Regions from separate parts of the Homo sapiens genome. Here region 1 is linked to region 2. The links are contacts of gene promoters, found by promoter capture Hi-C in blood cells and fetal thymus (Javierre and others, 2016). All regions are on one chromosome and are shown on one strand. Each heading gives the region's core, a stretch centred on a gene start or on the middle of the fragment in contact. The rest is flanking DNA. Distances are from core to core; before and after follow the strand shown.

Region 1 (4,530 bases), core at 1,905-4,404, 400 kb before region 2:
GTGAAACCCCCCGTCTCTACTAAAATTACAAAATTAGCCGGTCGTGGTGGCACACGCCTGTAATCCCAGCTACTCAGGAGGCTGAGGCAGGAGAATCGCTTGAACCCGGGAGGCAGAGGTTGCAGTGAGCCGAGATTGCACCACTGCACTCCAGCCTGAGCAACAGAGTGAGACTCCGTTGTCTTTAAAGGCCAATCCCATAGCAAATGACAGAGACTCACTTGAGTAAGAAAGGTTTTTGACAAGAAAACCCACAGAAGAAGAGATAAGCTGTGGATATAAGAAAGGCACTACAATCTGTATTTAAATCTAATTGCACACTAGATAATATATGTATGAAAAATTATTTAATCCAGTTTCCTGATTTCATTATATATTTCTTATAAGGTTTTCATTAGGCTTTTGTTTTTGTTTTTGGTTTTAAATAAAAACACTTTATTGCACAAATCCCACAAAGGTCTCAGGCCCTGGGTCCAAGCCCACAGCCCCAACCTGTCCCCTGGCTCTGGGCCTGGTCTTTGGTGCCCACCCTGGCCTCACATGCCAACGTCTTCTGTGGAGTGTGCAGGTGTCCATGAGCGTTCCTGTGTTGGGGGAAGCCTGCCTGGGCCACAAGTAGTCAGGCACTGTGGCAGCCTCACGATGAAGACAGGTGGGGTGGAGTTGGGTCCCCACCTGCCCAGGCTCAGGGGCCACAGGGGTCTACACAGTCCTTTCTGCTTTGAAACACGTGGTAGATGCTGGTGGGAGGGAACATGGCACCGGCACCAAGCAGGGAGCCCACTTGGATGGCCACACCAGCTGCCAGCAATGCCGGCCGACCCCCACCATGCAGCAGGGAGCTTGCAGCCACCTTCACATATGAGAACACACACAGACACAGCACCCACGACAGCACCTGCAAGGGAGGACACAGCAGCAGGCTGAGCATGACATGCACTTGCTCCAGGGGACACCCTCCTCCCCACTTCATGTCTCCACTTGCTCACCACAAGGACCACCCCTGCAGTGGTGCCCACCAGGGGTGGGCAGGGGCTCAGGATTGCCAGTGCCATCAGGTAGGCCCCAAAGAGCATGCCCAGCAGAGAAAGACCAACCAGCCCTGCCAGGGACCTGTTGGGGATGAGCAGAGACTCAGGGCTGGCTGTTCTGGGACCTGGACCCCAACCTTAAGTTCCACCCACCAAGCCTGGGGACCCTTTTGCACCTGCACAGCACGCCCATGGCCAGGAAGCAGGCAAGGGGGTTGGCGGCACTGCCCAGCACCACAGCCAGGTGGTAGGCCAGGCGCCCATAGGGCAAACAGGAAAAGCTCTGCACAGAAGGCAGCACGCCATTGGTCACGGCACTGGTGAAGGCCATCAGGCCCAGCAGGAAGGCACCATGGGCTGAGAACAGCTGATGGGCCTCAGGGTCTGGGCCAGGGATGGTGCCTGCTGCCTGGCTCGGTGGCTCCTGCAATGGCAAAGCCTCTTCTTCCTCCTTCTCTTCCTCCTCTGCTCCTGGGGATCCCAGTTGAAGTTCAGGCCCTGAGCCCCCTGTGGTTACAGAGGGTAGTGATGGCAACAGCAACAGGAGACCCCGGAAGGCGGCAGCTGAAGTGACCAGAAGGGCAGTCAGTGCCCAGAAGAAGGTGCTGGCAGGAAAACGCTCAGGGAAGTCGAGGGGAGGCCCAGAGGTGCCATTGGTGGGCGCTGGTGGGCACTCGAGGCGGCCCACACCTTGCACTAGGGCCAGCACACAGGGGAGTAGGGCACTGAGACCCTGACCCAGGAAGAAAGACCGTAAGAAAGGAGGTGGCAGGTGGCTCAGGAAGGGCAGGAAAGTGACATTAGAGGTACAACAGGCCATTGCCAACACCAAGGCCAGAGTTAGGAAGGCCACAGAGTGGAGCTGCCCTGCCACTGGGGCCACGTGGTGCCACAGAGGGGCCAGCAGGGCTGTGCCCACTACACTCAGCACCTGTACCACCTGGATGGGGACCTGCTCGCCCTTGCCCGGGGCCAGCTGCCTCCACAGGGTCACCACCAGCAGACCCAGGTTTCCCAGCGCCACAACCACAGAGAGGTATGAGGGGAGGCTCCAACCTGCAGGGAAGGAATGATGCCATGTCAGGAGCACAGTGGCTAAGGGACAAAGAGCTGCCACAGGCCACCTTTCTGGGCATACCTGCCCCACGCTTCCCTGTACCTCCCTCCCACTCACCCTCTGGAAGGTCTTTTACCACCACAGGCAGCTCCACCCAGATCCCGTTCACAGCAGCCCAGGAGCCCATGCCAAAAAGGGCCACCAGCAGGTGGGTCAGCACCAGACGGCCCAGCGTGGGTGCTGCCATTCAGCCCAAAGCTGGACCCTCCAGGACAGGGCAAAGGTCACAGGCAGGTCCTTCCCTAGGTAGGTCCAAAGATGCTTTGGTTCTTCTGGAAACTGAAGACCTTCTAGCTGGAGGGAAACAGACAGGCTGGCAGGTAATAGGCTGGTGGGACAGAACCGGAGTCAGAAGACAAGTCGGTCAGACTGCTAAGACCAGGGCAACTGGAGGGAGAGGTGGCCGGGGGCGGGCGGGGAAGGTGGGGAGCCAGGACTTACCACGGGGCACCGGCTGTGCGTTTGGGTACAGCGACCCAGCAGTGCCGGCAGGCAGACAGGCAGAAAGCTGGCCCGAGGTGCAGCTGCCCCAGAGGAGCAAAGAGGGAGCTGATTTTCCTACCCACAGAGGACCCGGGGTCCAAGTTGTCAAAACAGCTCAGCACTGGCCGGGTGCGGTGGCTCACACCTGTAATCCCAGCACTTTGGGAAGCTGAGGAAGGCAGATCGCCTGAGGTCAGGAGATTGAGACCATCCTGGCCAACATGGTGAAAACCCGTCTCTACTAAAAATACAAAAATTAGCTGGTCGTGGTGGTGGGTGCCAGTAATCCCAGCTACTCAGGAGGCTGAGGCAGGAGATTCACTTGAACCCGGAAGGTGGAGGTTGCAGTGAGCCAAGATCACACCACTGCATTCCAGCCTGGGCGACAGAACGAGATTCGGTCTCAAAAACAAAACAAAACAAAACAAAACAAAAAAACAGCTCGGCACCAACACGCTCACCCTCAAATGGACCCCGGGACAAGGGCACGTCTCTGGTGCCACTTGCAACCCTAGCGCTTTTGCGACACTCAGGACTTGCTGAGGCAGGTCGAGTTGGAGAGGGGAGTGGCTGGGGCGGGCTCTGCCCGGAGGGGCGTCTCCGTGCTGCCCTCCCGCCTGCCTCAGGGGGGCATCCCGGGAGCCGCCAGGTGCGCAGGGGTCCCCGCACCTCCGGATCCGGCAGTCCCCGGACCCAGCGGCTGGCGGTCTGCCTGAGAGGGAGCCCCCTCCGCCGGGGAGGCGGCCCAGCCCAGAGCCCACACAGCTGGGGTTTTGTTGTTTGTTGTTTTAATTAATTAATTAATTTTGAGACGGGGTCTCACTCTGTCACCCAGGCTAGAGCGCAGCGGTGCGCGATCGCGGCTCACTACAGCCTCAACCTCCCAAGCTCAAGGGATCCTCCCACTCAGCCTCTCCCCACCCCCCCACAAGTAGCTGGGACCACAGGCGAGCATCACCATGTCCAGCTAATTTTTTTTTTTTTTTTTTTTTTTTTTGGTAGAGACAAGGTCTCACTATGTTGCTCAGGCTGGCTTGGCACTCCTGGGCTCAAGCAATCTTCCTACCTCAGCCTCCCAAGTAGCTGGGACTACAGACGCACCACACCTAGCTACCGCCACGCTCAGCTGTTTTTACACTTTTTTTTTTTTTTTTTTTTTTTGAGACGGAGTTTTGCTCTTGTTGCCCAGGCTGGAGTGCAATGGCACGAGCCTCTGCCTCCCGGGTTCAAGCCATTCTCCTGCCTCAGCCTCCCGAGTAGCTGGAATTACAGGCGCCCACCACCATGCCCTGCTAATTTTTGTCTTTTTAGTGCACAGGGTCTCGCCATGTTAGCTAGGCTGGTCTTGAACTCCTGACCTCAGGTGATCCACCTGCCCCGGCCTCCCAAAGTGTTGGGGATTACAGGCGTGAGCCACCGTGCCTGGCCAGCTGTTTTTACACTTTTAAATGGTTGAAAAAAAATTAGCTGGACGTGGTGTGCACACCTGGCTAATTTTTGCTTTTTTTTTTTTTTTTTTTTTTTTTTGAGACGGAGTCTCGCTCTGTCGCCCAGGCTGGAGTGCAGTGGCGCGATCTCGGCTCACTGCAAGCTCCACCTTCCAGGTTCACGCCATTCTCCTGCCTCAGACTCCCGAGTAGCTGGGATTACAGACGCCTGCCACCACGCCTGGATAATTTTTGTATTTTTCGTAGAGATGGGGTTTCACCATATTGGCCAGGCTCGTCTCGAACTCCTGACCTCAGGTGATCCGCCCGCCTCAGCCTCCCAAAGTGCTGGGATTACAGGCGTGAGCCACCATGTCTGGCCCTTTAATGATATTTTGTACTTGTTTACTCACTGACCATCTCAGGGATTACCCTGACCTACTACCCATTTTTGTATGGCCTGCTAGCTAAG
Region 2 (5,019 bases), core at 2,200-4,699:
ATGCAACTCTGGCAGGCACCATTCCACACAAGAGTACATGAAGGCTGGGCGCAGTGGCTCACGCCTGTAATCCCAGCACTTTGGGAGGCCGAGGTGGGCAGATCACGAGGTCAAGAGATCGAGACCATCCTGGCCAACACGATGAAACTCCATCTCTACTAAAAAATACAAAAAAAAAAAAAAAAAAAAAATTAGCTGGGCGTGGTGGTACGCGCCTGTAATCCCAGCTACTCAGGAGGCTGAGGCAGGAGAATTGCTTGAACCTGGGAGGTGGAGGTTGCAGTGAGCCGAGATCACGCCACTGCTCTCCAGCCTGGAGACACAGCAAGACTCTGTCAGAAAAAAAAAAAAAAAAAAAAGAGTACATGAAGTGCCGCCCTCCACTTGTGCTAACTAGCTGCTCTGCCAGGAAGCCACCTTTCCATGGCAACAGAGGCAGTCTGAGGTTGACAAAATCTGTCTAATTCCAACTGTGCTGACTAAGCTGAGCTCCTGGGCACAGAAATTGAATGACGTTCATCAGAGCATTATTTTTAATGGCCCCCAAATAGCTATGAAAACCTTGCGCAAATGGTGTTTAGGTGAGATTACAGAAGACACAATTGACCTGTGTAGGGCAAAAACACACTATGCAACAGGCAAGAGAATCAGGACCCTACTTCACACCATATTCAAAATGAATCACAGACCTAAACTAAGAGCTAAAACTAGAAAACTTTGAAAAAATTAAGGCATACATCTTCACAACCTTGGGTTAGGCAGTGGTTTCTTAGACGTGACACTAAAAAAGCACAAGTTGCACTTGGTGAATTAGAAGCAAAGTAAAAAATAAATAAAAAAGCACAAGCGACCAAAAAAATAGGTAAACTGAACTTCCTCAAAATTAAAAACTTTTGTGTCAGAGGACATTACCAAGAAAGTGAAAAGGAAACCCACAAGATGGGAAACAGTACTTACAAATCATTAATTTGATAAGATAGTTGTACCCAGAAAAACTTAACTTTTACAACCCAACAATTAAAAAGGTAAATAGGGTGGGCAGGGTGGCTCACACCTGAAATCCCAGCACTTTGGGAGGCCAAGGCGGGCGGATCACGAGGTCAGGACTTTGAGACCAGCCTGGCCAACACGGTGAAACCCTGTCTCTACTAAAAATACAAAAATTAACCGGACGCACGCCTGTAATCCCAGCTAAGGAGGCTGAGGCAGGAGAATTGTCAGAACCTGGGAGGCAGAGGTTGCAGTGAGCCAAGATCGCACCACTGCACTCCATCCTGGGTGACAGAGCAAGACTCCGTGGGGTTGGGGGGGGAAGCTACAAATTGTATGACTCCATTTATATGAAATGTCCAAAAGAGGCAATCCCATAGAGAAAGTAGCTTAGTGATTACCTGGGGTGGCTACAGGGAGGAATAATGAGTGACTGCTAATAGGTATTGTTTGGGGATGACAACAGTGTTCTAGAATTAGGTAGTGATAACTGATGCATAATTCTGCGAGGACTAAGAACCACTTAATTTAATAAACTTCAATAAATGGGTAAATCGTATGCCATCTCAATTAAATCTCATAAAAGCTGTGATTTAAAAAAATTACATACACATCATAAGGTCAATTATGAAGGAAATTCAATTTATTTATTTATTATTGAGATGGCGTCTTGCTCTGTTGCCCAGGCTGGAGCGCGGTGGCGCGATCTCGACTCACTGCAACCTCCACCTCCCAGGTTCAAGCGATTCCCCTGCCTCAGCCTCCCGAGTAGCTGGGACTACAGGCACGTGCCACCATACCCGGTTAATTTTTACTAGAGCCAGGGTTTTAGTGTTAGCCAGGATTTTCTCCTGACCTCATGATCTGCCCGTCCCAAAGTGCTGGGATTATGGGTGTGAGCCACCGCGCCCAGGCTCAATTTAAAAACCTGGAAGATGCCAAATGTTTATCTGTGTAATGAGATTATGGATGACTATAATGCAGAAAAGTGTAAACACTTTAACAGTTTAGGAGATGATGGGGGAGCTGACTTAGGTCACAAACTCCCCACCTCTGATGGCAGCCCTTACTACAGTGTAACCCCATCCTGTTACATAGAAGTTACATATTTTTCATTTTCACCCATACTAAACATTAGAGAGCAGTGTCCTATTTTATCAGGGCTGTAAATCAGAGATCAAACTGATTCTGCCAGTACTTTTTTGCACTACATTTTTGTCTCCTTAGTAACCAGCCCACAGCAAATTTGTGTTCGGTGAATGGACTGCCTGGGGCTTACGAAGTTGTCCAAATGAATCCTTCACTCTCTTGAAACCCATTTATCAAAGTATCCACACCTGAACTCAAGGCTCTTCTGGGGATGACCCAGGATGGGTCCTGCAAGGTTAAGGGAGTTGCTGCCCTGGGATCCCCAGACCAGTACTTACTTTTCCCCGGCAACTTTCCGCACTAATTTCGCTTCTGTCCCATTCAGTTCCAGCTCCCAACCTCCAGACATCTTAGGGAGGGTTTTATGCTTCTGAATTTTTCTTTCCTCCTTAATTTCATCACTCAGGAAATCAACAAAAGCTTTGTCTCCTAGAAAAGAAATCCAGATACATAAAAAGGAAAGCCAGTTAGTCTAAAACATAAAACTATTACCCAGGTTATTGCAGCCAGAAACCTGGACTGTTTCTAATCTCTCTGCTATTACGGTTACTCTAGAAGCCTGTTTCCTTATCGGTAAAAATACCATAATAGTAGTAGGAAGCTGAGCCTGATTCTGGAAAAGTGATTTCCAACAATGAACGCATTACCACTTTCCGCTATAAACCAGGAGAATTTCCAATCCTCTTCCACTTGCCAAACGATATAACTATGCTATTTTCAACCACGACCATGGGCCTTCCCAAAGGTCCACTTTCGATAGAATAAGACTAAGGAAAAAGGTACCCTAGTATTTAATTTTATTCACCCCCTACCAAAAGAAAACGAAACTGCTGGATAGGGGAGGTGGGGGAAATATGATCATACGTGGGTTTAGCCCGCTGGTTGCCAATCAATGGAAAAATGTCCCAGACCTCAGAGGTCGGTTGCAGGCCCTATTCCTGGTCTACGTTTTCCCTCTGTTGAACGCAAACCACACCCCCGGCCCGCTAAACCTCACCGTCGGTGTGCAGCGAGCCGCAGCCACAGCCACAGGCGCAGGGTCCGCGAGGCCGCAGGAGGCCCGGCCGCCGCTCGGAACCTGCGCGCACGCTGAGCAGCCCGAAGGGCCGGGTGCACAGCCGGGGTGCCGGCTGCAGGAGCTGCCGGAAAGGCGAGGCGGGCGCGGCAGCGCGGAGGCCGGCGACGGAGGAGCCCAGCACACGGGGCACGCAGCGCAGCAGAGGCAGCATCGCGGAAACGACTGCGAACACGTGCAGATGCAAAGGACAACCCAGGCCTAGGCGCCCCGCGACCTGAGGCGCCGCCGGAAGCCCCGCCCCTGCCCGGAAGCGCTTCCCGCGCCGGCGCTCTGACGACCTAAGGCCAGCGGGCGGAATCGCGCCCTCTGCTGGAGACTCCGGTGCAGCCCGGGAAGCCTCGAATCCGGATTCCGGAGCTTTCTTGCTGCGCTGCCGAGTCCGCTGTCCGAAGCTGTTTAATTCCCTCTAGTGGCCGCTTACCCACTTTCCACCTGCTGTTCTCAAAGCACGCAAGGCTTTTGGGCTGCGTGGAATGCACTCTTGTCTCCCGCCAGCTCTCACCAGACCCTTCCACGGTCACTTTCCTCTAGGAGGCTGTGGTGTTATGATATATATATGTATTGGTTTTCATCCACAGTTCCTGGGTCGTAACTCCTATAGCCCTTGTTACAATGTTCTGTGATAATGTTGGGTGTGTTAGGCCTCAGGAAACAGACTCTCCCCTTCTCCTGCCCTCCTTTTACCTGCCCCAAAGCAGGACTCTAATCTCCTTCCACATTTCTGATTATGGGTCTTAAGTCCCTTCCCAGAGAAGGTCCCACCATATACCCTGGGGGAAGGGATGCTGATGTCCAGAAGCTTCCATAAAAACCCAAGAGGAGAGGGTTTGCAGAGCCTCTGACAGCTGAATACGTAGAGGTTCCTGGAGGGTGGTGGCCCAGGGTAGGCAAGGAACCTCGGAGCTTCTTCCCCATTCCCCACCCTGCTCATCTCATCTGTATCCTTGGTCATATCCTTTATATGAAACCGGTGAATGTGTTTCCCTGAGTTCTGTGAACTGCTCCAGTGAGTTAACATAATCCAAAGAGGGGGGTCGTGGGAACCCCAACTTGAAGCGGGTTGGTCGGAAGTTTCAGAGGCCCAGACTTGCCATTGCTGTCTGAAGGTGGGGGCGGTCTTGGGGACTGAGCCCTCAACCTATGGGATCTGACACTATCTCCAGGTAGATACTGTTGGGATTGAATTGGAGGACACCCAGCTGGTGTCTGCTGCTTAGTGTGGAGGGGAAAAACCCAAACCTTTGGCCACATAAGTCTTCTGTGTTGATTGTTGTGTTGTGAGAGCAAAGGAAAGTCTGAGGGTTTTCCTGAAAGAGGCCTTCTAGAACCTTTTTTTCCACCGGCTCGGAACTCATGCTTGTGCGCACCCAGCCCATATGCTTCATTCTCTTTTCAACAGGAACCTCCTAGCGTTGCTGCTTTAACCAGGTTAAACCCAACCAGACTGTGACATCCTCAAGGGCAGGATCCATGATTAATTTTTGTGACCTTCCCTCTCTGCACCTCCAACCTTGCATCCAAGTTCTAATGGAACATCATTTTTCTGGGGACAAGAAGCCAGCTTATATCATTTAGATAAGTCCAGAGGCTTCCATAAAAACCCGAGGACAGGGTTTGGAGAGCCTCTGATAGCTAAATACATGGAGGTTCCTGGAGGGTGGTGGTCCAGGGACGGCATGGAGGCTGGGAGCTTCTTCCCCATTCCCCACCCTGCTCATCTCCTTATCTGTATCCTTGGTCATATCTTTTGTATGAAACCGGTAAATGTGTTTCCCTGAGTTCTGTGAGTTTCTCCAGTAAAT

The links. Contacts are between HindIII fragments. The CHiCAGO score rates a contact against its expected background, and 5 or more counts as called.
Region 1: the fragment with the promoter of SLC52A1 here is called in contact with the fragment with the promoter of C1QBP in region 2 in 3 of 17 cell types (naive B cells, naive CD8 T cells and total B cells); the score reaches 6.4 in naive B cells.

What each region holds. Positions count from the first base shown.
Region 1 is chr17:5,032,272-5,036,801 of GRCh38, forward strand. SLC52A1 (solute carrier family 52 member 1) reads right to left here and starts at 3,155. Exons shown (of 5, transcript NM_017986.4): 1 at 2,590-3,155; 2 at 2,206-2,442; 3 at 1,208-2,087; 4 at 990-1,113; 5 at 331-898. The coding sequence starts at 2,335. The coding sequence ends at 686. The region is part of intron 3 of LOC105371501 (a long non-coding RNA gene); the gene reads left to right. The HindIII fragment of the contact is 18,376 bases long and covers 1-4,530 here.
Region 2 is chr17:5,435,706-5,440,724 of GRCh38, forward strand. C1QBP (complement C1q binding protein) reads right to left here and starts at 3,450. Exons shown (of 6, transcript NM_001212.4): 1 at 3,137-3,450; 2 at 2,418-2,568. The coding sequence starts at 3,368. RefSeq lists silencers at 3,117-3,166, 3,277-3,446, 3,425-3,607 and an enhancer at 3,667-3,846. The HindIII fragment of the contact is 1,457 bases long and covers 2,558-4,014 here.